6 separate regions of the Homo sapiens genome follow, and regions 1, 2, 3, 4 and 5 are each linked to region 6. Evidence: promoter capture Hi-C in 16 types of primary human blood cells and fetal thymus (Javierre and others, 2016). All regions are on one chromosome and are shown on one strand. The core of a region is centred on a gene start or on the middle of the fragment in contact, and the rest is flanking DNA. Distances in the headings are between cores, read along the strand shown.

What was found. The method cuts DNA at HindIII sites, captures the fragments that hold promoters and counts their contacts. A CHiCAGO score of 5 or more calls a contact.
Region 1: a fragment that was not itself captured here is called in contact with the fragment with the promoter of TPPP2 in region 6 in 2 of 17 cell types (M1 macrophages and M0 macrophages); the score reaches 7.0 in M1 macrophages.
Region 2: a fragment that was not itself captured here is called in contact with the fragment with the promoter of TPPP2 in region 6 in 2 of 17 cell types (M2 macrophages and monocytes); the score reaches 7.0 in M2 macrophages.
Region 3: a contact is called between a fragment that was not itself captured here and the fragment with the promoter of TPPP2 in region 6, in 1 of 17 cell types (monocytes). The highest score is 5.7, in monocytes.
Region 4: a fragment that was not itself captured here is called in contact with the fragment with the promoter of TPPP2 in region 6 in 2 of 17 cell types (M2 macrophages and M1 macrophages); the score reaches 7.3 in M2 macrophages.
Region 5: a fragment that was not itself captured here is called in contact with the fragment with the promoter of TPPP2 in region 6 in 2 of 17 cell types (monocytes and M2 macrophages); the score reaches 6.1 in monocytes.

What each region holds. Positions count from the first base shown.
Region 1 is chr14:20,710,451-20,714,730 of GRCh38, reverse strand. LOC124903282 (a long non-coding RNA gene) reads left to right here. Exons shown (of 2, transcript XR_007064061.1): 1 at 1-1,650; 2 at 3,013-4,280. Among named protein-coding and RNA genes, the nearest start is that of EGILA, 5.6 kb to the right of the region's middle. The HindIII fragment of the contact is 2,470 bases long and covers 1,579-4,048 here.
Region 2 is chr14:20,615,193-20,619,166 of GRCh38, reverse strand. It overlaps the pseudogene RPS26P9. Among named protein-coding and RNA genes, the nearest start is that of TRT-TGT3-1, 3.3 kb to the right of the region's middle. The HindIII fragment of the contact is 1,926 bases long and covers 523-2,448 here.
Region 3 is chr14:20,524,002-20,528,437 of GRCh38, reverse strand. It overlaps the pseudogene PTCD2P1 and the pseudogene SETP1. Among named protein-coding and RNA genes, the nearest start is that of RNASE10, 21 kb to the right of the region's middle. RefSeq lists a silencer at 1,094-1,304. The HindIII fragment of the contact is 9,274 bases long and covers 1-4,436 here.
Region 4 is chr14:20,760,159-20,764,665 of GRCh38, reverse strand. LOC107984671 (a long non-coding RNA gene) reads left to right here. Exons shown (of 3, transcript XR_001750624.2): 2 at 1,823-1,896. Among named protein-coding and RNA genes, the nearest start is that of EDDM3B, 6.0 kb to the left of the region's middle. The HindIII fragment of the contact is 5,387 bases long and covers 222-4,507 here.
Region 5 is chr14:20,635,525-20,639,645 of GRCh38, reverse strand. No RefSeq gene overlaps it. Among named protein-coding and RNA genes, the nearest start is that of OR6S1, 4.1 kb to the left of the region's middle. The HindIII fragment of the contact is 1,027 bases long and covers 1,097-2,123 here.
Region 6 is chr14:21,027,960-21,032,386 of GRCh38, reverse strand. It overlaps TPPP2 (tubulin polymerization promoting protein family member 2), which reads right to left and starts at 2,170. Exons shown (of 4, transcript NM_173846.5): 1 at 2,083-2,170; 2 at 1,633-1,874; 3 at 1,222-1,375; 4 at 1-495. The coding sequence starts at 1,805. The coding sequence ends at 310. It also overlaps a transcript of NDRG2 not described here. The HindIII fragment of the contact is 5,962 bases long and covers 1-2,364 here.

The DNA.
Region 1 (4,280 bases), core at 1,564-4,063, 320 kb after region 6:
AATTGGTTCAGGAGTACTCTGTGTTGATCTGTGTGTTTGTGTTCTTTTGATCTCTCCCCTGAGAATGGGCAACTTGACTTCCATTCCATCTAAGTGGCCATTGGGCTGTATATTGGCTTATTGGAAAGCTTATAGCTATGAACTCATAACAAAAAAGATAATGATTTTTTTTCATTGTAACACTGTTTGGCCTATGTATGTGTTGGAATCTGAAAAATGGTGGCTACTGAACAGTGATTTACATTAGTACACCTTATTACAGTTGGCGTTATTTTGCCTAAGATCTGGGAAATGAAATGAGATTCCATGTGTTTAAGCATTTATTACATAACAAAGACTCAGCACATGAGGGGTCTATGTGAATGACGTAGAGAAAAGGGAAAAAGAGATTTCTCTTTCCAGATAGTAAGACCCAAAAGGAAGAGGATATTGATGATATGGGCCTCATAAATATCTTAAATTTCCCCTCCCATGTGGTACTGGGGGCACCAGCCCTCCCAGGATTACCAAATGTAGCCCAGGACCCGGAGAGGCCAAGGTGTCAGCTCCTCTCCCCAGGATGGGGAAGGAATAGAAATGGCTGCTCCACTTGCAGATTTTACTTGGGACCCCAACAATGGAGGAATGGCCCTGTCCAGTCATTATAAAAAGCATGTGTTGGCAGGGTTAAAGAGAAGAATGTAAAAGAGCTTAAATAAAGCCAGGGCAGTTCTCCCAAAGGCAGATGAGAACCCCTGTGAATTTCTGGAGTGCATTTACCAGGTTTACCACAAGTGTATGGACTATGATCCAGAAGCTCCTGAGAATATGAGAATGGTAAACGTGACTTTCATCCAATATTAAACGAAAACTGCAGAAACTGGAGGGGGTATTTGGAATAAACCTTTCCCAACTGCTGGACATTGCCTTCAGAGTATATAATGCCAGGAAGGCCAAAAAGCTAAAGCAAGCCATGATATACTTGGAATTAGTGGAAAGAATGTATATCCGAAAAGGAAAAACCAGGCACAGGGAGGTGGCCAGAACAAAACTCTAGGTAATGATCAGTCTGCCCCCTGCAAGGAGGAAGGTCATTGGAAATCTGAGTGCCCCAAATTAAAGAAAAGACAGGGAAACCAGAAGAAGGGAGACACAGTGACAGAGAAGAAACATACTGGCTGATGGTAAAGCAGGACTGTAGCTCAGATAGTGAAGGAGGCCCAAATCTTTTGGAGCAGGTTGTAATTTCCCCACAGGAACCTCAGGTACGATTGACAATGGGGAACAAATTGATTGACTTTTTAATCAATACTGGTGTGACTTATTCAGGTAGAAACACTAAAGAAACTGAAAGTACTAGGAAAACAGTGCCTGTGATGGTTGTCGCTGGCAAGATGCAGCAAACAGCCTTTCTCCAGACCCTGGAGAGTCTGGAGACTGCCGGACACAGAGATCTGGAGCTGAGACACAGTTTCCTCTATATGCTGGAATACCAAATTCCTTTGCTGGAGTGAGATTTGCTTTGTAAACTAAATTGCCATGTGACGTTTTTCTCCAGAAAAACAACAACTTCATCTGCAGGTCCTGCCAGAGCAAGCTTTGCAGCTGCAGATGCTGCTCACACACCCCGAGGAAGAAAAAGAATGCCTCCTGCCAGCAATCTGTGAGCAAGTAAGTAGTCATGAGGGCAGATGGGACCACAGGTAGTGCTGAAAATACACAGCCTGTGTGCACAGAAATAAATGAAGGGGCTAAGGTATTCCCCAAACACAGTGCCCTCTAAAAAGAGAGGCTTTAGAGGGGATACAACCTATATTACAGAAGTTTCTAAAAAATGGACAAATATGTCCTTACAGATCTCCATACAATGCCCCTATCCTGACTGTTAAAAACCCACACTCAAATGAATATTGATTTGTACAAGATTTGGGAACCATTAATGACATTGTTCAAGACATTCACCCAACTATGCCCATCCTTTACACCTTACTAACTGATAAACCAGGGCAGTATGGGTAGTTTTCGGTATTAGACTTAAAAGATACTTTTTTTTTTTTTTTTTTTTTTGCATCCTGATTGAAGAGAGGGACCAGATGCTGTTCACCTTTGAGTGGCAAGACCTGGAAACAAAAAACACCTTCCAATATTGTTAGGCTGTATTTTCTTAAGGTTTTAAAAACTCACCCACCATCTTTGGCAAAATATTGGCAAAGGGCTTCAGAGATTTTCAACTAGATGATGGGGTTCTGCTAAAATACTTGGATGACTTGTTAATCGCAAGCCAAGACTATGAGAGGTGCCTATCTAACACTATCTTAATCTTAAATTATTTGATATAATACGGACGTAACATATCACCTCAGAAAACTCAGATTTGTAAACAAGAAGTGACCTATCTTGGCTTCTGACTAAAAACAAGGAAAGCAGAGCTTGATGTCCAACCAGAAACAGGTGATAGCAGCAATAAAGGCCCCTGGGAATGGAAGACACTGTGGGGGGTTTTAGGTGTGGCAGGTTTCTGCTGAATCTGAATCCCTAATTTTGGACTCATAGTCAAACCTCTCTACAAGGCTCTAAAGGGATTAGATTCAGGAGCCCTAAACTGGATGGCTGAATGCCTTCAGGCATTTGATACCATCAAAAAAAAAAAAAAAAATAGTGTCAGCTCCAGCATTAGGACTGCCCAATTCTTGAAAGCTATTTAGACTCTATATCCATGAAAACCAGGGCACAGGACAGGAAATACTAATTCAACTACGTGGGAATTCCCCACAACCCATAGCCTACTTTCCCAAACAACTGGAGCAGATTACCAGAGGATGGCCACCTTGTCTTCAGGCCGTGGCAGCTACGTGTGATATCTTACAGGAAGCAGAAAAATTCACCCTAGGACAGCCCATTACTGCATTTGTGCCTTATCAAGTGTTAACCTTATTGTAACAAAAGGGAGGTTACTGGATGATAGCGGGGCATATGGGCAAATACCAAGCCAGCCTATTAGATAACAGAAATGTTTTCTCCAAACCACCACAGTCTTGAATCCTGCCACCTTGCTCCCAGCCACTGAGTCCAACTATGAACTGGAGCATAATTGTTTAGAAATTCTTGATGCAGTCTATTCCAGCAGACCAGATCTGTCAGATCATCTGATGGCCACTCCGGACTGGGAGCTATACACTGACTGAAGCAGTTTCACAGAAGGAGGACAACGCCAGGCCAGGTATGCTCCAGTGACCCTAGACAAAGTAGTAGAAGCCTATGTCCCCGCTGCTGGTACTTCAGCACAAAAAGCTGAATGGATTGCTCTCATCAGGGCCTTAAAACAGTCTCAAGAGAAATGGGTAAACATTTACACCTACTCCAAGTATGCCTTCTTGGTAGTGTATGCCCGTGGGGTCATTCAGAAAGAAAGGGGATTCTTAACCTCAAGAAATAAAGACATTAAACACCTGCTGGAAATTTTAGCTTTGTCAGAGGCAGTTGTTCTGCCAACTCAAGTTGCTATTATGCACTGCCAAGGCCACCAAAAGGATGACTCCCCAATAACCAAAGGGAATCAAGTGGCTGATAAAGCTGCAAAGCAGGCCACTCAAGAAACATATTTACTTGGGACCTTAATACTCCATTTAAACTTGTCAGAATTTAAACTCCACTACACTGAATGAAATGAAGAATGCACACATGAGTGGACATTGACCAACACAGACCCTTGTTCCTCATGGAAAGCTAACACTCATGGGATATTACTCTCTGAGGCCCTGGTATACCCAGTCCTGAAAGACCTGCATGAGGGGACACACTATGGCAGAGATGGACTGGCTCACCTGGTGTAGCCATATCTCAAAGGGCCACACCTTCAAAAGATCATTCAAAAGATTATACAAGCATGTTATCTATATACCCCAAATGATTCAAGAACTGCATGCAACTCTTCCCAGAGGAGGATACAATACAAAGGAATATGACCATTCGAGGACTGGCAGGTTGATTTCACCCAGATGCCAAAAACACTGGGATTTATAAGTACCTACTAGTGTTTGTAGACACATTTTCTGGAAAGGTTGAAGCTTACCCGAGCAAGAGATTGAAGCCTATCCGAACAAGTCTGAGAAAGCTGCAGAAGTAGCTAAGGCTCTGCTAAAAGAAATCATTCCTCGATTTGGACTTCCTTACTCCATACCAAGCAACAATAATCCTTCTTTAATTTCTGAGATCACACAAAGGATAAGCCAAGCATTACAGATCAAATGGAAATGACACTCTTGTTGGAGGCCACAATCAACTGGAAAGACTGAAAAGAT
Region 2 (3,974 bases), core at 236-2,735, 410 kb after region 6:
TTTCCTAGTCCCTGACTTTAATTCCATAGTGTACCAAGTGCTCAAAACACAGTCAGCTTCTCAGTGAACACACAGGAGTGTTTATAATGGGTTTAAACATTTGAGGCAAGCCAGTGGGGTGCATGTGCCAGGAAGCCTTTTGGGTCTCGGAAATAGAATCTTGCCCACTTCACATCCACCAAATAAATCTGTGCTTATCATTTGATCAGGTTTGGGGAGGAGCAGAAGACAAACAAGAATATTATCCTTGCTCATTGGGAACTTGAATTTGAATAAAAGAAAATATCTTCTCCACCTTTTACAATATATACAATACAAACCTAGAAGAATGAACAAACACACAGAGACACACACTACAGTTAGATGGCAATACAAGTGGTAACTGATAATCACCAGAGTGAGTGTAGCCTCAGTTTCCAGAAGGTAAGATGTCTGTGGAAATCTGAAGAAAACTTTGAGAAAGTACAAATCGAGGCAAGTACGTGTGTGTGTGTGTGTGTGTGTGTGTGTGTGGCTAAAGCTTTGCAAACTCACGTTCCTTGATGTCTGAGATAAACAGTCTATGTATCTTGGAAACCAGTATGCCTGTCATAGGTGTTCGTGGATGTTGTTACAGTGAATAATTGGTTGAGTCCTGGTAATTGTGCCTACTTTTCTGGGATATAAATTCCTGACCTTTAAAAATATTCTATAGCCAATGAAGCTGAAAATTACAAAGTCTTCCCCAAAGGATGACATAATAGTTTCCTTTTCTGAACAGAAGCTCCTTGAAATAGTGCACTGTCATGTAAATAAGTATCAGTCATTAGACTTCATTCTTCCTGCTTGGTTTACTAGAAATTCAGTCCTACCTAGACCCTAGACAATCTATCCTGGAAAATTAGTAGTAGGGTCCTTGACAAAAATATTTAAGCTGAATCTAATCATGAGGAAATAAGTAAATATTGAACTGAATCTTATATGAGGAAATAATCACATTCAGAATGTGAGACTTCCTGTAAGACAACTGCCATGAGAAAAGAAAGTCTAAGAGGAGGGGAATTTTCTAGATTAAAAGAGACCAAAGAGATGTTACAACTAAATGCAGTGAGATATATTGTTAGAATTTACATTATTTTAATAGGGAGTGGGTAAGTGGGGAAATCTGAATATGGACTGTATGTCTACTAGCATATAAGGAATTATAAATTTTCTTGGGTGTGTTATGGTACTAATATTCTGCTCTTGGATAGTACATGTAAACAGGGGGAAGGGTAGGTAAGAAGGATGCAAATGTTCCTAATAATGGGTGTTCTAGTTAAAGGGTATACAGGTTTTACCGTACCGTTTTTTTAACTTTTCCCTAGGGTATTACTATACAAACAGACAGTGGCCAGAACATATATAAAAATAGACCTCTGACCAGCACTAACCTACAACAGCCAGTGCAGGAAGTCAACCCACAGTGACCAGCACAGGAAGCCAGCCCATTATCTCTCTCTCTCTTTTATTTATTTATTTTTTTGAGACGGATTTTCACTCTTGTTGCCCAGGCTGGAGTGCAATGGCACTATCTTGGCTCACCGCCTATCACTGGCTATCTCTGCCTCCTGGGTTCAAGCAATCCTCTTGCCTCAGCCTCCTGAGTAGCTGGGATTACAGGTATGCACCACCACGCCAGGCTAATTTTGTATTTTTAGTAGAGACAGGGTTTCACCATTTTGGTCACGCTGGTCTCGAACTCCTGACCCTCAGGTGATCCGCCTGCCTCAGCCTCCCAGAGTGCTGGGATTACAGGCGTGAACCACAGCGCCCGGCCAGTCCATTGCCTTTAAGCCAGACTTTTAGGAAGTCAGACCACTATCTCTAAGCAACCAGCCCAGGAAGCCAAACAATAACCTCTGTAAAAACCAGACCCAGTGGCTAGGAATTTATGAATAATTAACACCTTTCCTATTATTTGTTTCTGTTTCCAAGTTAGCATCAACCAGAGAAAGCCAAATATGCATCCCTAACCAATCACATAGGATGCCCCGCTTCTAGTTAGCCTGCCCACCGTGTCCCCATGCCACAGTCTCCAGTCAGGGCACACTTGAAGGCTTCCCTTTGTCCACTATAAAGTTTTCCCACTCCTCTGCTTGCCTTTGAGTCTCTGCCAAATCACAAGTGACGTTCTTTTGGGTCCCCACTTCCAAGATGGCAAAGAAAAGAAATAACAATGGTCATGCCAAAAAGGGCCACAGCCACGTGCAGCCTATTTGCTACATGAATTATGCCCTATGCCTACCCAAAGGCAAGACTATTAAGAAGTTCATCATTCAAAACGTAGTAGAGACTGCACCTGTCAGGGACATTTCTGAAGCTAGTATCTTTGACGCCTATGGGCTTCCCAAGTTGTTCGTGAAATTCTGTTACGGTGGGAGTTGTGTCATTCACAGCAAGGTAGACAGGAATTAATCTTGTGAAGCTTGCAAGGACCGAACACCGCCACCCTGATTCAGACCTATGGGTGCTGCCACATGACCCCTACCAAAGCCCATATAAGAAGGTGAGTCCTTAAGGATTGAAGAAAAACTCTCTCTAGAGAAAAATAATATGGAAATTATATTTTTAAAAAATCACAAGTGAAGGCTGCTAACTCCTTTGCTATAGAAAGCTCTGAATAGCTTTTGCTGGTTCTCATTAACTGGTGTTCATTTATTTCCACATTAGGATTAAAGTTTTTCCAAATGAAAAGTTGAGGGGAAATGGAAGAAATACAGACAAACAACAAAAAAAGCAATTAAAAATATTGCTAAGATTACAACTAGGGGTCAAGTTGCTCAGCAGAGGAAGTGCTCAGGATGGGCCAGAACACACTGGAGCACAACCAGGTTTGCTGATGCTAAGTCTAATAAACTAGTAGAAGGGGCTTTTGGAGTTTCGTAGCGTCAGACACGCCAACTCGAGTGAATTGTGGAGTAAGGGCCTGGAAGAATGAGAATGTAACATAAGGTCCTGGGACAACCTTTGATGGTAGGAAGTGGGCTGAATGTGGATAGGGTCAATTGGTCAAAGGTTTATTTGTACTGATAGAGGAGTGAGAACCCTCTCCGCAAAGCCAGCCTCTGTCTAGCAGAAACCAGAAACATCAGATCCATGGTTGTTGCCCTGGCTTCTCTCCTTGGAATACTTCTTTGAATATTTTAAATTATTATTATTATTATTATTTTTAGACTGAGTCTGGCTCTGTCGCCCAGGCTGGAGTGCAGTGGCGCCATCTCGGCTCACTGCAACCTCCGCCTCCCGGGTTCAAGCAATTCTCCCGCCCCAACCTCCCGAGTAGCTGGGACTACAGACCCGTGCCACCATGCGCTAATTTTTTGTATTTTTAGTACAGATGGGTTTTCACCGTGTTAGCCAGGATGGTCTCAATCTCCTGACCTCGTGATCCGCCCGCCTCAGCCTCCCAAATTTAAATTATTCTTAAATGAATAACAGTCTGTGGTTAGAAGAGAAGAAATCAATTCATGTAGGGAATAGAAGTGAGCTTGCCAAATTGTGACAGGGTGAGAATGAGGGGACAGGTTCTAAGAGAAGGTGAGGGGCCATCATGAATACCATCAGAGAAAGACAAGCAAAGAGAGGAGGAGAAACAGCAAAGAGGAAGAAGGCCGTTTGAGAGACAGTTTCCACTGCTTAGTAATTTTGCCTATGGCCAGTCTCTCTGAAAATAATAATAATGAAGATAATACTAACAATGATGATAATAATAAACACCTATTTTGAAAACAGGGACGTTGAGACCTGGCAAAGTTAAATAACCGATTTAGGTTTTTTCTAACCACTGCACTACATACTCTATGTCTATACATGCCAACAGTCACACATCAACTATGACCAAAAGTTTATTTTAATTTGACTTTTCTGCTCTAGAAAAAAGGTAGGCGTACTTGTGTTCCCCTGACGTAAAAAAAAAAAAAAGGTAGGCAACCTGCCATTTCCTTAAGCTATGA
Region 3 (4,436 bases), core at 1,907-4,406, 500 kb after region 6:
AAATTTGACAAAACATTAAAGTCAGATGCAGAGTAAAGCCAGCAGGAAGAGGCAGCATGAGGCACCAGAGAGCTTCTCTACCTGATTTACCCACCATTCTGATGAAGGTGCTGATGAGTTAGGAGAGGTCATCAAAGGTGATATTTGGCCAAACCCATTATAGTACTACTTGGTTCCCAATATGGATGATGGAGAAGAAGAAGGAGAAGAAGATTAGTAGGAGGAAGAATTAGAAAATATTGATGAAGAAGATGAGGGTGAAGGTGAAGAAGATGACAATGGTGATGAAGGGCAGGAAGGAGAGGAGGATGAAGGAGAAGATGACTAATAGAACACTGATGGATTCCAACCTTCCTTTTAAAGAAATTTTCTCCAGTTCCTGGGAGCAAGTTGCAGTCTTTCCCCCGCCCCACCCCGCTTCTTGTGCTCAGTAACCCTGTTCTCGTGGTCCCTTTTCTCTACACCATGGTTTTCAACTTATTTGGGAGGGAAATACCTTGAGCAGAATACAATGGGAAAAGAGCCTCTATCCTCTTTCTATTCTTAATTCATTTTTATCCCTTCCTGTCTGAGCAAAAACTGTATGGAATCAACACCACTGAGCTCTGTGGGGAAAAAAAAAAACCTGCTCCCTTTGCTCTGCTGGAAGCTGGAGGGTGTGAGGGCCCTGTGTGGCAGTGCGGAGAATTCTAGCTTCTTTCCTACTTTCTCTATATATTGAGCTCAGAGAGTACACTGTGCCTGTATGTGAATAAAGACAGTTAGCATTTACCAACATGTATCTGTCTACTGTCTTTTGTTTAAAAAAAGGAAAAAAACAGTTCTAAAAAATGGGGTTTTAGAAGGTCAGCAAAGGGTGGCTTTGACATGTTTGGCCGGGTTAAGTGGGCATTTTGACAACATGGCTTCTCCTTGGGATGTTTGTGATGTTTGACAGATATCCTTGCAGTTTAAGATGACACTTTAAAAATAAATTCTCTCCTAATGATGACCTGAGCCCTGCCACTCAATGGGAGAATCAGCAGAACCTGTAGGATCTTATTTGGAATTGACATTCTCGATTGTAATTTTGTTCCTGTTTATTTTTAAATTTTGTTTTCGTTTCACTGGAAAGAAAAGATGATGCTCAGTTTTAAACGTTAAAAGTGCACAAGTTGCTTTGTTACAATAAGACTAAATATGTACACAAAAAAATTAAAAACTAAAAATAAAATAATATAGGTTGGGCACAGTGGCTCACATCTGTAATCCCAGCACTTTGAGAGGCTGAGCGGGGAGGATCGCTTGAGCGCAGGAGTTTGACCAGTGTGGGCAACATGGCGAAACCATGTCTCCACAGAAAAATACAAAAAATAGCCTGGAGTGGTGGCACATGACTATAGTCCCAGCTACTTGGGAGGATGAGGTGAGAGGATCACTTGAGCTGGGGAAGTAGAGGTTGCAGTGAGCTGAGATCTCACTACTGTACTCCAGCCTGGATGACAGAGTGAAACCCTGTCTCAAAAATAAATAAAGAAAGAAAGAATATAAATATTTTGTATCAATTTTCAGCTTTTACAGTCAATGAACTTAAGTCTTAATTTTGGTTACAGAATTAAATATTAATATTAACAATCAAGGCAATGTAAAAGTAAAGTACAGTTGACTGAAGCTGGGACACAGACGAAAAGAGAGTGAATGAAAAGAAGGATACTAATATTCTTATTTTACAAAATAGGAACTCAGAATACCCAGTGCCTATCTGAAAAAGATACTAAAATGATTAGCATAGTATTAAGTTAGAAAGGTAAACAAGAGAACTGAAATATAGCTATATTAGGAAGAGGGGAGGGAGGTGGAGTTGAGCTAAACCTTAATATGTTGTAAAGTCAATAGACCTTTGATGGATTAGTGAGTACAGGACACCTTTCCTAGTAGAGGACACCATTAGAGGGAATTCGTTTGAGGGAAAACAGCCTGCAAATTATTTATTTATTTATTTGAGATGGAGTCTTCCTCTGTCACCCAAGCTGGAGTGCAGTGGCACGATCTCAGCTCACTGCAACCTCTGCCTCCCAGGTTCAAGGAATTCTCCTGCCTCAGCTCCCAAGTAGCTGGGATTACAGGCGCCCACCACCATGCCCAGGTAATTTTTGTATTTTTAGTAGAGACAGGGTGTCACCATGTTGGCCAGGCTGGTCTTGAACTCCTGACCTCATGATACACCTGCCTCAGCCTCCCAAAGTGCTGGATTATAGGCATGAGCTACCATGCCCAGCCCAAATTACTTACGATTGGAAATCACCTTAATGTGACAAAAGAGGGAATACTTAAATAAATCACATTACATTAATAGAATAAAATATATCGAGTAAAACTTTTTAATGACTACTCAACAATATGGAAAATTCTATTATATAATAGAATTTTCAAAAGATATAAGTCCTCTTTCCCTAACCTTCCCTTTCTAAACCATTTAGTCCTAAAGCCACCAGGTGGGGCAGAACAAGGTCATAGACATTGATGAGGAGGGGCCATCTGGCACAGGAATAAGAACTCAGAACCCAAGAGAGATGAAAAGGTGTCCCTGGTGAGGGATGTCTGAGGGGGCTGAGAGGGGAACACAGCCTGCAGAATCACAGCCTGAGCAAGTGGAGGAGATGTCCACTCAGAGGGGTTGCCTAGTGTGAGATATCCAGGCCCAAATGGTGGACACCCATGTAGAGGGGCAGCCCTGGCACAGAGTGTCAGAGCCAGAGTGGGCAAAGGGCATCCATATGGGAGGGGGAATGGCGGCAGCAAGGTGAGATTGGTTACATACATGAAGATGCATGCAATAAGCAACTATATTAAAGAATATGGGAGAAGAAATTTATAAGTCAAAAAGTTATAAATAAGAAAATTAAGATATAAATATGGGAAGAGAAAACCTAATATGAGCTTGTGGGGTTGGATTTGAATTGAGGTATTGGTATAAACGTATGGTTTTCAATATAGTTACATAAAGAAAATACATGTGAGAACTTACATGTTACATAAAGAAAATACATGTGCTGCACTTAGGCCCTCGAATCGAGTTCTCCTGCAGGTTGCTGCAGATTTCGGTGTATCCTGGGGTGGGAGCCTCCAGCTTTGCCTGTGGCTGCTGTCCTTTCAGAGCTAACAGATACCTACTTACAGATAGTATTGTGAAATTAAAAGAATTTCAGCACAAGAAGGTGGCTGTTGCATGTAATCTTTCCTAAAGAAACCTATTTTAGGAATTTGGAAGAGAAACTGACAAGCTCATCTTGAAGGGGGAGTTGATAACCTTACTTTATTTTTGTGGGTCCCAGGACCATGTGGAGCTGGCTACAAATGTCATTTACAGGTACCATGCAGGGAACAGAAATATCACTTTGGGGGAGTATAGGTTTGGACCACTTTTCATGAGTCTGTTATGGGTTGGATCTTGAGGGGCTCATGAAAGACCAGCATTTATGAGATTCCTTCTCAGATTCCACATCATTCAATATTTTGATGGATATGTTATTTATCAAAGGCAAATATAAAAGTGCTTTGGAAGTATTGATAGAGATGAAAAATCAAGCTGTGAAATTCACCAAATATCCTATGTTCTTAGTTTTGCAGTTTGCAACAAACTGAAGAGCGCTGAGTCTTTCAAAATCTGTTCTGCATTAACAGAAGAAGCCCCACTCAAAGGAGAGGTTCCCTCCAGGAGAGCATCCCGTTTCTTTGTGGCGTTAGCTCTGAATCAGAACCAAGTGGCAAAAGCTATGTCCATTTTTTTCTCAAACCATGAATCCAGAAAGCATAGCCTGCACTAACTTAACTATTATAATCCATATCCAGTCAAATATGTTGGAAACCCTGATAGAGACACTAAAAAAATGCTGCAGAAGGAAATTTATTAAAATTTGTGAAAAGACATGCATTCTCAGAGGAAGTGCTGGCAAAAGTGAAGGAAAAGTGAAGGATATGCCTGCCCTTGTGGCCAGATTTAATGAGATCTATGGAAAACTGCACATCAGTGGCCAGGTCACCACTTGTACTTTGGGTACTCTGCTCTGCCACACCCCCAGGGACAGGAAATCCCATATGTTGCTATTAAACAAGAGGATGATGAGCCATTGGACCTTCCAGCCACTCAACCGGTCCTTTTTGGCTGAGTAATAATCCTCATTTCATCCACCTGTGGATCTGAAGGGCCTGCTTCTAGTGAGTTGTTGCCTTCCCTAAGAAGCAGGCATTGCACTTCAGTAGACGCTGTGCTGACACTTAGCCTCCTCTTGAAATTCCCAAGTTCACTGAATGGTGGCATGTTGATCTCTGAGAAGTTATGTTGCACTACTGTGAAGGTCTACATGCAAGCATGGTTCCCTCAGAAAGGAGCTTCCCTTGTACACTGCTGAGGATACCTGAAGGAACATGGTCAGTCTCCAGTCCAGCTTCCAGCA
Region 4 (4,507 bases), core at 1,666-4,165, 270 kb after region 6:
ACCTGAGCCAATGTTCGAAGAAGCAAGCTAAGAAAGAGCTCTAGAGCTTTTCAAGGCATCATATCTGATGATATATTCTAGTACATCAGTGAGTAATTTTGAGAATTTTTAGAAGTAATGCATTTGAAAGTAGTTTTAAAACAATAAAATGTAACCAAATGCAGGCTTGGCTGCTTGCAAAACCAATAACAAGGACAAGATGCAGTGAAAAGAAAGAAGCTTTATTCCAGAGCTAGCACTGGAGAAGTGGCCATGGCTTGTGCCTTAAAGGAACCATTTCAAACTTTAGCCTGGGGAGAGGGGCTTACAAAGGGAACTTGCAGTGGGTGGCATGCAAGGAGTGGTGCTGGGTACAGGTCCGTGCGTCTCGTTCTGGTGGCTATCTTGAGTCATGGTCCACCTGGAGCATGGGCTGGCATCATCCCCACAATGGCCGGGTTGTTGACTAACTGCTTTGAGGTAATCTCTGGAATTTTGCAGCTGGGTTTCCATGCCTGTAATCTGTCTCAAAATTAGTCCCTAGAACTTCTAAGTAAGCACATATTTAGATACAAGCCTACAGTCAGATAAATGTATGTGACGTAAGGGAGTGTACGGTGGGAAATGGCGGGGGAACAAAGACTCTTGGTATGTTTCAAAGCTATATATTAAGACTGAGGAGGGGAAAAAATTTCTGCAGTTTGCTTCAAGGTTATATCTTGAGACTAAAAAAAAGAGAGAAAAAAAGAAAAAAGTTTTAAAATGCATTTTCTTTCTTTCTTTTTTTTCTTTTTCTTTTTTTTTTTTTTGAGGCGAGTTTTTGCTCTGTTGCCCAGGTTAGAGTGCAGTGGCACGATCTTGGCTCACTACAACCTCCACCTCCTGGATTCAAGTGATTCTCCTGCCTCAGCCTCCCAAGTAGCTGGGATTACAGGTGCCCTGCCACCACGCCCGGCTAATTTTTGTATTTTTAGTAGAGATGAGGTTTCACATGTTGGTCAAGCGGGCCTTGAACTCTTGACCTCAGGTGATCCACCTGCGTAGGCCTCCCAGAGTGCAAGGATTACAGGCCTGAGCACCGTGCCTGGCCTGAAATGCATTTTTGAAGTTCAGTTACTTGGTTACAGCTCCCTACTGTCAAATCCCATCCATTTCTATGGGAAGTGGTCAATGCAGGCGATCTGGCTACTTCCTGCTGAAAAGAGGCATAATTAGGAGGTAATGGGATGGAATCTGCTTACCTGGAGTTGGAAATATTCTTGAATTCCCAGATTGACAGTGGGAACTTGCTGGAGCATTTTGGTGTGGGGAACTAAGAGCTGCTGAGAAGTCTGTCTTGCATCCCCATACAGACAGCACAATAGCAATAAAATCCATAGCAGCTGAAGAAGACACTGAGTAGAATGCCAATTAAGCGATGTATAAGTCTTCCATGCACTAGGGAGTTGACTAAAGCGTGCCATCACAAGGCCTTAGGATGAGGCATCTATGGTGGAAATATTTAAGGCCTTCATAGCTAGGGTTACACTGTGGGAATAATCTGATACACACACACACACACACACATACACGCAAGACTCAGTCTTAGTTAATGCACATGTGCCACCTTGGGCTGCAGGCAGGATATCTAAGGCCATACAGTTCTTTAAGGCTGTCTAATCTGTGAGGTTTCTTCAGGGAGAAAGGTGATGGCAGAGTGAGTGTTATTAAAGGCAGCAGCCATATGCTTAGCTACGGCCTCTACTTGTAATTTTACATCTATGGCCGCCTCCTGGGGGGTAAAACCACAAGGGTGTCCATTTCTGATGACAATATCTGGCTTTTATGCTTTCCCAATTGGCAGGGAGAGGATCCAGATGGGACAGGATATGTCCCGGTAAGGGTGCCCCCAGTTGCATCTCCTGGTTCCATTATAAGGTAAGTAATGCAACCATGAGTGCCGCAGGCCCATAGCCAACCCCACGTGGAGGGATGGGCCCCAGTATGAAGATGGGCATTATTCTGCTATCCTAGCCACATACCATCAGTTAGCTGGAGAGATTGGCTACATTGTTGAGGATGTAACCATCCCATATGGTGGGCTATGGTGTGCTTGACCCATTACTTGTATTTGTACTGCGGTCAGACATCCCATGCCATCACATACAGCATATCCCAAGGTGGGGGTACTGTTAATCTATTAATAGAATAGGCAAATAAGGTGTCTCTGAGTTTCCTGGTAGGAGGGGAACCCACTGTGGGAGGTGCTATGATCATAGAAGGGGAATGGGTATGAACTCCTATACCAGGTATATAAATGACTCCAATTGCTCAGGTTGGCGGCTTGTAAGCACCATGGCAAGCATGCAGTGCAGGAAAGGAGTAGTTCCCACAGACCCAGCAGTCTGTTTTATTTTGAAGAGAAGCCACCGTTTGTAATGCGCTAGGTCAGCGAGAGCCTCTCTCCCATAGCGTGTCCCTTCGTGCAGATGCTTAAAATTGGGTAAACTAAGGCCTCAGGGAGTAAGATCATCCTGTAACCATTCGTTTCCCAGAGAGAATTAGAATCTGTTTTATCAAACTCCAGGCCCTGGTGCATTTTTTATGTTGTTCAGTGTAATGAGGTTTGAAGTCTGATAAGTTCAAATGGGATATTAAGGCCTCCAGTGTTTTTGCTTCCCAAGCAGCCTGTTTTGCAGTCTTATTGGCTGCCTGATGGCCTTTGGTTGTTTGCAAATTTTTTTTTTAGACAGAGTTTTGCTCTTGTCGCCCAGGCTGGAGTTCAATGGTTCGATCTTGGCTCACTGCAACCTCTGCCTCCCAGGTTCAAGTGATTCTCCTGCCTCAGCCTCCTGAGTAGTTGGGATTACAGGCACCCGCCACCATGCCTGGATAATTTTTTTGGTATTTTTTAGTAGAGATGGGGTTTCACCATGTTAGCCAGGCTCATCTCGAATTCCTGACCTCAGGTGATCCACCCACCTCAGTCTTCCAAAATACTGGGATTACAGGCATGAGCCACCTGCGCCTGACCTGTTGTTTGCAAATTATCTTTCTTGTGTCCGGGGCAGTGCATAACGGAGGTGTGGGCAGGCAAGGCAACTGCTTCTAATAAGGCCAGAATTTCCACTGGGTGCTTAATGTCCTTGTCTCCTGATGTCAAGAGGCCTCTTTCTTCCCAGATGGCTCCATGAGCATGTCCTTTCATGAAAGCGTAGCTGGAATCAGTGTAAATGTTTTCTTGCTTCCCCTGGGACAGTTTAAAGCTCTGGTAAGAGCAATTAACTCAGCCCTTTGTGTGGAGATAAGGGCATGGGCTTGTATTACCCTGTTGGTGGTCACCATGACATACCCAGCTCTGTGTTGTCTATCTTCCATGAAACTGCTCCCCTAGGTTACAGTTCTCAATCTGGGGCATCCAATGGCTGGTCTGACAGGTCCTGCCTGCTGGAATAGACTGCATGAACAATTTCTAAAATGTAATACTCTAACCTGGAATCAGATTCAGTAGCTGGGAGCAGTGAGGAAGAGTTTAGAGCCTGGAGGTTTGCAAGGTGATATCTGAGTCATCCAAGAGGATGGCTTGGTATTTCCCCATTCACCCCACAGTGAGCCAGTAAACTCCCTTTTGTTCTAGCAAAGTCAACACCTGATGGGGCACAAAGAGAGTGACCTGCTGTCCCAGGGTAAACTTTTCTGCTTTCTGTAGGACTTCACAAGTGACTGCCAATGCTTGAAGGCAAGGGTCCACCCTTAGTCATTTGATTCAATTGTTTAGAAAAATAGTGTATTGGCTGTGGGGTGTCTTCAGCTTCTGGATTAGCACACCTAGACTGACCTATGCCTTGTTTCTTATAAATGTAGAGTTTGAATGGCCTTTGGGATTCTGGCAATCCCAACACTGGGGCTGATACTAGCTTTTCCTTGATGATATTAAATCTGTGTTGGCACTTGGCCGTCCAAGGCAGGGGCTCAGAGTCTAATCCCTTTAGGGTTTCATGAAGGGGCTTAGTCATCAGTCCAAAACTAGAACTCCAAATCCAACAGAAGCCAGCCATGCCTAAGAATACTTGAAGTTGTCTCCTATTTTCAGGAGCTTTGATGGCTCCTCTTGCCTTTCTTTAACCTGAATCTGAGATAAGTTTACTTTTTGTTTACAGATTTGTAAACAGACACTTTGTATCCACCCTGGGCCAGGTGGTTTAGAACTAGGATGGTGTTAGACAAACATTTTTCCTGCTTGAGGCTATCTATAAGTAAGTCATCTACATAGTATAGCAGGACTCCATCAAGTTTTGTTTTGAGATGGAGTCTCGCTCTTTCACCCATGCTGGAGTGCAGTGGCGCAATCTCAGCTCACTGCAACCTCCGCCTCCTGGGTTCAAGCGATTCTCCTGTCTCAGCCTCCCGAGTAGCTGGGATTACAGGCACACGTCACCACTCCCAGCTAATTTTTTGTATTTTTAGTAGAGACAGGTTTCACCATGTTGGCCAGGCTGGTCTTGAACTCCTGACCTTCAGTGATCTACCTGTCTTGGCCTCCCAAAGT
Region 5 (4,121 bases), core at 361-2,860, 390 kb after region 6:
TCTTCTAGTGTGCACTTTAGTACATTGATAAAGACATCTCCACTCGTTTTGTCATTGGATTATGTTTCATTCATTTGTTCATCTTTTTACATTCTTGTATCTGTTGTGTGAAATCTTCTTTTGTTTTTAGTAAAATAAGGAGCTTTAATATTAAAGAGTTAAGAATGCCACATAGGCTGGACACGGTGGCTCACGCCTGTAATCCTAGCCCTTTGGAAGGCCGAGACAGGCTGATCACCTGAGGTCAGGAGTTCCTAGACCAGTCTGGCCAACATGGCGAAACCCCGCCTCTACAAAAACACAAAAATTAGCCGGGCGTGGTGGCGGGCGCCTTTAATCCCAGCTACCAAAAAGGGTAATTTCATATAATTTCATTATATAAGGAGGCATTATATAAGGAGGCAGGAGAATCACTGAACCCAGGGGGCGGAGGTTTGCAGCGAGCCAAGATCGTGCCACTTCACTCCAGCCTGGGCGAAAGAGCAAAACTCCATCTAAAAAAAAAAAAAAAAAGAATGCCAAATGCCAAATATTGTTGTATCTACCAAGAACCAAACTTTGTAGTAAATTTTGTCTAGTTTATTGGACATTTGAAAAGGGATTCCTATTCATGGAAATCCCTTTGGAAATCTTGGAAACAAATATTTATTTATTTATTTATTTATTTATTTATTTATTTATTCATTCATTCATTCAGCAAAGGTCTGTGAAGAATCTTTGTTGAACACTGTGATATATGAATATATACAAAGATGAACAAGAATAAATTGTTTCTAACCTCAAGCAGCTTGAACTTTAGAGTTTAGAACTAAGGGACGGATAATAATTTAAGGAAATGTGGATGAGAAGGAGATTTACAAAAGGACATTGGAGATCTTATAAAAATTGGTTTACTCTTCCCAGTGCATTTTCTTGTTAGAGAAATTTTCACAGAGGTCATCATTCATTAAACAGGATTTGTCACGTTAGAGTGTGTGTACATAGGAACGATGTACAAAACATGTAAATATCAAGGTATCGACAGCATACTAAACTCAAAATAGTGCTGCAAAACTGGCAAAGTGCGTATTAGCGTCAAAAGAGTTAGCCATAAGCTTCAGTGGGCATGGAAAATAGAAATGTTTTTATCTAGTTCTATTCATAATGCATGCAAACACACTAGATAATTTTATTCCAAAATATTTCTGAGTACTAAAGGAATGGAAAGAATGATTCGAAGGTAAAAATAACTCTTCTGGAGTGATCTAGAAGTGTTGCCCAGAGAGGAGATGAAATATCGCCTTAAAAATTACCTAGTTTCATGAAACATAAAAATCTGAAGTCTATTCCAGCCACTGGCCAAGGAAAGGAATTCATGCAACAATTTACAGCATTTCTTGAAGTAATTGCCACATATTATGGCAATAAAGCATGTTAAACCATCCATTTTCAACATGTGTTTCATTGTGAAAAATAACTTTGGGCTCAATTTAATTCAATAAAATTTGTTGAATACTGTGTTCTAGGAAGTAAGTTGGTATGTTAGAGGTACAAATATTGGCCCCTGCCATCAAGGAATTCATAGACTTTTGGGGTAGACATAATACATATGAATATATAAATATATAATTTTTTTTCTGTTTTTGAGATGGAGTCTTACTCTGTTGTCCGGGCTGGAAACCAATGGCGTGATCTCAGCTCACTGCAACCTCTGCCTCCCGGGTTCAAGCGATTCTCCTGCCTCAGCCTCCCGAGTAGCTGGGATTATAGGCACGTGCCACCACACCCAGCTAATTTTGTATTTTTAGCAGAGACGGGGTTTATCCTTGTTGGTCAGGCTGGTCTGGAACTCCCGACCTCAGGTGATCTGCTAGCCTCACCCTCCCCAAAGTGCTGGGATTACAAGCGTGAGCCACCGCGCCTGGCTTCGAATTTCTATAAAGGTACCATGACAAGCGTCTTTATTCATACTATTATATGAAATAAATTTGCCTGAAATTTTGGTATGATGGTATGTGTAGATTGAGTGCGCATGTGAATGTGTGCATGCATATAACAGTGATACAAACTTGTGTGTCCATGAAAGTTTGTGATTAAATAAAAGAATAAATAAAAATCTGTTTATTGATATTTATTTCTAAGCTTTCCTTTCAAAGATCTTACCTTCATTGACATGAAATTTGTATTTTGTTTTTAAACATACAGTTAAGACAGAATATACTTAATTTAGAAGAAGTAGAAAATGCTTCTGTTTGCATCATTTTACATATAAAACTCTGAATAAGGCCAGGTGCAGTGGCTCACGCCTACAATCCCAGCATGCTGGGAAGCCAACAAGGGGGATTGTTTGAGCCTGGGATTTCGAGGCTACAGTCAGCCAAGATCGCATCACTGCACTCCAGCCTGGGCCAAAGGGTGAGACCTGGTCTCAAAAATTAAATAAATAAATGAAGCTCTTAATGACATCATTGATAATGACAATGATGCTAAACTCAGCAAGCATATGTTACTCTTTATACTTACCTCAGCAGAGTTTGGCACAACTGATCTTGTCCTCTTATTTGAAATAGTCAATGTGTTCTTTGTTATTTATTTATTTTATTTCAATTGTTTTGGGGGAACAGGTAGTTTTTGGTTACATGAAGTTCTTTAGCGGTGATTTCTGAGATTTTGGTGCACCCATCACCCGAGCAGTGTATACTGTAGGCAATATGGAGTCTTTTATCTTTTAGTGCCCTCCCACCATTTCCCCAAGTTCCCAAAGTCCATTATTTCCTCCTTATGCCTTTGCATCCTCATAGCTTAGCTCTCACTTGTAAGTGAGAACATACAATATTTGGTTTTCCATTCCTGAGTTATTTCACTTACAATAATGGTCTCCAACTCCATCCAATGCCATTATTTTGTTTCTTTTTATGGCTGAGTAGTATTCCATGGTGTATATGTACCACTTTATTTTTGTTTTTTTGAGCCGGAGTCTCACTCTGACACCCAGGCAGGAGTGCAGTGGCACGTTCTTGGCTCACTGTAACCTCTGCCTCCTGGATTCAAATGATTCTCCTGCCTCAGCCTCGCGAGTAGCTGGGATTACAGGCATGCACCACCATAGCTGGTTAGTAGAGACAGGGTTTCACCATGTTGGCCAGGCTGGTCTCTAACTCCTGGCCTCAAGTGATCCACCCACCTCCATCTCCCAAAGTGCTGGAATTACAGGCGTGAGTCACCATGCCCGGCCAATATAGCACATTTTCTTTATCCACTCATTTGTTGATGGACATTTATGTTGCTTCCATATTTTTGCACTTGCAAATTGTGCTGCTGTAAATAAACATGTGTATGCAAGTGTCTTTTTCATATAATGCCTTCTATTCCTTTGGGTAGATACTCAGTCGTGGGATTGGTGGATTGAATGGTAGTTCTACTTTCAGTTCTTTAAGGAATCTCCATATTGTTTTCCATAGTGGTTGTACTAGTTTACATTCCCACCAGCAGTGTACAAAATGTTCCTTTTTTTACCACATCCACCCCAACATCTATTATTTTTTGATTTTTAAATTATGGCCATTCTTGCAGGAGCAAGGTGGTATCTCACTGTGGTTTTAATTTGCATTTCCCTGATAATTAGTGATGTTGAGTATTTTTTCATGTTTATTGGCCACTTGTATATCTCCTTTTGAGAAATGTCTATTCATGTCCTTTGCCCACTTTTTCATGGGATTATTTACTTTTTTCTTGCTGATTTGTTTTATTTCCTTGTAGATTCTGGATATTTGAATCCTGTGTTGGATGCATAGTTCGTGAATATTTTCTCTCACTCTGTGGGTTGTCTTTTACTCTGCTGATTATTTCTTTTGCTATGCAGAAGCTTTTTAGTTTAATTAGGTCTCATTTATTTTTGTTTTTGCTGCATTTGCTTTTGGGTTCTTGGTAATGAATTATTTGCCTAAGTCAATGTTTAGAAGAGTTTTTCTGATGCTATCTTCTAGAATTTTTATGATTTCAGGTCTTTGATCCATCTTGAGTTGATTTTTGTATAAGATGAGAGATGAGAATCCAATATCATTCCTTTACATATGGCTTGCCAATTATCCCAGCACCATTTGTTGAATAGGGCGTCCTTTCCCCACTTATGTTTTTGTATG
Region 6 (4,427 bases), core at 921-3,420:
TTTTACCTCCACATCTGGTTCATCTCTTTACTCCAAATATATTCTTCCATCCTGTTCTTGGAAGCAGCTGTTGAGGAGGAATGCTAACTGATGGCTGGTAGGCATAAGGCTAAGCAGAGCGAAGGGTGTGTGGTGGAGAACCCACCCTCCTGTGCTGCCTCTTCTCCCTCTCTCTACACTAGTAGGCTCATCTGTCCCTCACAGACAGAGATTTTGGCTGCTGCACACACAGATGTTTATTGTTTTCCAAGCTCCCTGGTGTTAAACATGCAGGGTCAGGGGGCTAGCAGGCTGAGATGAAGCTCCTCTCTACTTGGTCTTCTTATCGTAGGTGCCAGAACCCTTGTAACCACTCACATAGCCTGTGTTGTCAGTCATCTCTTCCCGTCCCGCAATGCCCTTGCCCTTGCCACTCTCATCAAAGCGCTCCTTGTGGGTGCCGGTGTACTTGCTGGTGTCTGTCAAACGGTCCACTGCACCCACTGTTGTTGCTTTCTGCAAGCCAGGGATGGATTTGAGCTCTCTTCCTTTCCTTACGCTGTCATATCCCTTCCCCAAAGATGGCCCGAGATACTTAGAACAAGTGCTTGGAGCTCTTGCTCTGCCACTGGCATGGGGTGCTGCTTTCTTAGGGCCCAGATACAGCTGTGGGCAGGTACTCTGGTAAGAGCCGTTCACTCATGGGGGAGGAGGAGTGTGGTGTGGGAATGAGTGTGGCGTGTGCAGAGGGAGGGTAGGTTTTTTGTTTCCAGAGGAGTTATTCTGACTAGGCTGCTGCCTGAGGACTTCACTCCCACTCCCCGACTCAATATCCACTGTAGAAAGAGCTTTTAGTTCAGACAGGACAATTAAAAAAGGGAGTAGGTGAGAGGCAGGAGGCCTGAGATTAAACCCTAAATAAGAATTGGAAGAGGAGTGGGCATCAGGTACCAAATTCTCTACACTAATGTCCTCCAAAAGCTACCAAGCCCTAATTGCCTGGCTCAGATACTAGACACTTGGAAATTAGTCTAAATCTACTATTAAAATAGCCATGGACCTTGGGCAAGTCACTTCCCTTCTCTGGGCCACATTTTCCTGACTTCTGGAATGTCTAGATGATCTCTAAAGTCTGTTTCGGCCCTGTCTCTACAGTCACACAGTTGGCAGGGTTAGGGAGGGTAGACTGGAACAATGGGGATTTAGGGAAGTAGGGTCAAGGGGATGAAGGCTGTCACTCACAGTAGCGCCAGTGGTGGCTGGGTCTTTGCCCTCCATGAGTCCATAAATGTTCTCCAGGACTTCATCTGGACTCTTCCCTTTGAAGCGCTTCTGGCCCAGTTCCTTCACTGCCTCTTTGAACTGTTGAAACGTGATGGTTCGGGCGTTCTTGGCCCTGGTCAGTTAGACAGAAATCCAGAAACTTTGGAGCATGAATGCATTACCTTCCAAGGTCCAACTCTTGCCTCACTCAGATTTGGCCTCTTTTGTCCTATCAATCAGTGAGTGTCTCGAAGACAAAGGATAGCACAGCGCCAGGTACCCTGTGGTGCTTGGTAGGCCCACTGCAAATGTTCCACCACGTGAACCCTTCCGTGGCCAACTACCTCGCAGGTTCTTCTCACCCCCACCTCCATATTTTTGGCTCCTCACTTGACTTTGCTGAACACGATGTCCACGTCCGTGGAGGTGACTGTCTTGCCATCCATGATGCCACAGTCTTTGCACAGCTTGGAGAAGTTCTTGTTGTTCATTTCAGTGCCACTGCTTGATGATTCTCCAAACGCAGCAAACCGATGGAATGTTTTTTCTGCCTCTGATGCCATGGTCAGCTAGAGGTCGGGGAGGGCAGTCGTGGGAGACACTTGGGGGTGAAGGAGAAGGGGGAGGGAGGACTGTGGAGTAATGAGGATGAGTGTTATGGTAAAATCAGTCAGCAACAGGAACAGCTCCCCTCTTCCCTGTTGCTCTCTCCTTTCTCCCTCCCAGCTCCCATTGCACCTACGCAACTACAGCATGAGTCTCCCATTCCCAGCATTGGAGATACCAGTGTGGATCCTACCTACTGAATGATCCTCTCTTTCCCCTACCTCTTTTATGTACCTTAGAGTACCCGGATGGTGGTCTGACCCTTCCCGGCCTTTGTATTTAAGTGTGTGCAGATATGTGGGAGCCGGTTGGCTGTGGCAATGAGGAGACAGAGGGAGGAGAGGGAAGATTCTATGACCTCAGCAGTGGTTATGTGACATCACTTCTGGCCCCAGCTACAGCCATTGCCTTCAAAGGAGGGGGCTTTTGGTCTCCCTACCTTGCATGCCGAATTGAGCAAACTGCCAACTTTCTGACCTTTTCAGATGATCACATTTCCATCATTTCAGCCAAGCTTACCCATCCTCTGGGTCCTAGTCAAATTGCCTTATGCTCTGCCCCACAACAGAAGCTGAGGCGAGCCCAGGGAAGGTGTTGTAGTCTGTTTGGGCTGCTAGAACAAAATATCAAACTGGGTGGCTTATAAACAACAGACATTTATTTCTCAGAGCTCTGAAGGCTGAGAAGTCTAAGATCAAGGTGCTGGCAGATTCAGTGTTTGGTGAGGGCTGCTTTCCGGTCCATAGATGGCACCTTCTTGCTGTGTCCTCACATGGTAGAAGGGGTGAATGAGTTCCCTTGGGCCTATTTATAAGGGTATGAATCCCATTCAGAAAGGCTCTGCCCTCATAAAACTTAATCACCCCCCAAAATGCCCCATCTCCTAATACCATGACTTTGGGAGTTAGGATTTTATTTTATTTATTTGCGTATTTATTTTGAGATGGAGTCTCGCTGTCTGTTGCCCAGGCTGAAATGCAGTGGCATGATCCTGGGGCACTGCAACCTCCAGTCCCAGGATTCAAGCGACTCTCATGCCTCAGCCTCCCCAGTAGCTGGGATTAGCCCAGCCACTATGCCTGGCTAATTTTTGCATTTTTAGTAGAGACGGGGTTTTGCCATGTTGGCCAGGCTGGTTTCGAACTCCTGACCTCAAGTGATCCACCTGCCTCAGCCTCCCAAAGTGCTGGGATTACAGGTGTGACCCACTGCGTCCAGCCGGGAGTTAGGATTTTAATATATGAATCTGTGGACAACATAAACATTCAGACCACAGCAGTTAATGAAAACGGATTAATGAAAACAGGCTGTCATGTTTTCTAGTCTCCAGGCTCAAGTGTAGCATGGAGAATCCCACTGGCTTTAAAAGGCCAGTCGCAATAGAAACATTAAATAGCTTCCAGTGTTGGGCCCAGCAAGCCTTGGAGTATAACAGATGTGGACAGGTCAGGATAAAACTGGGATAGACTGAGGGTGAGGCTCAGATTCTGAAAATCTTCAGATAAGTTTCTATGCAGGTCAAAGATGTTCCTCAGGGTTTTCTCTCTTCGGCCTTTTCTCTGGCCAGAAGCACTACAGATAGATGAACCTCACGGATCCTAAAACAGAGCAACGAGACTGGTGACTTTCCTCCTTTTCCCATCTAATAATGCCACCACTTTCTATTTTTTTTCTTTGTCTTACAAATCTATGCCTTTCTTTCCATTCCTATTGCTTCCACCCTTATTCAAGTTCTTATCATCTCATAGTTGGATGACTACTCTGGTTTCTAAATGATCTCTTTTCTAAATCTAATTCTTCACTCCCACCCACCCATAATCCATCTCTATTACCTCCTCCCCATCAGATTAATTTTCACAAAACAGTATTTTTTATTACTCCTGCTCAAGAATATTCTGTGGCTCAAGATATACTATAGCTTCTCATTGCTAAATCTTTTTGCTTAGCATTCAAGGACCTATACAACTAACTAGGCCCCAATCTACCCTACCAAACATCACCCACCTCTCATCAACATTATTCTTGGGCAGGGCACAGTGGCTCATGCCTATAATTCCAGCACTTTGGGAGGCCAACAAAGTGAGACCTTGTCTCTAGATAAATAAATAATAATAAAAAAATTAGTTGGGAGTGGTGGCATGCACCTGTAGTCCCAGCTACTGAGGAGGCTGAAGTGGGAGGATTGCTTGAGCCCGGGAGTTTGGGGCTGCAGTGAACTAGGATTGTGTCAGCGCACTCCCACCTGGCTGACAGAGAGACCCCATCTCAAAAACAAAACAAAACAAAACAAAACAAAAAGAACCCCAAGAAACAAAAAACCTAAGAACCAGATTATTCTGCAGCTGGGGTCATATGGCCTAATTGCTATACACTTGACAGGCTACTTGGGAGTGGAAGGAGCATAGTCCCTGGAGTGGAATGGACCGGGGTGGGGAAATGAATCCTAGATATGTCATTTACTAGCTGAGTGGACTTGGGCAACTCACTAAACATTTCTGAGTTTCAATTTTCTCATCTGTACAGTGAGGACGATAACACTAACCTTACGGTATTAGGGGATAATACATGGGAAGCTACTA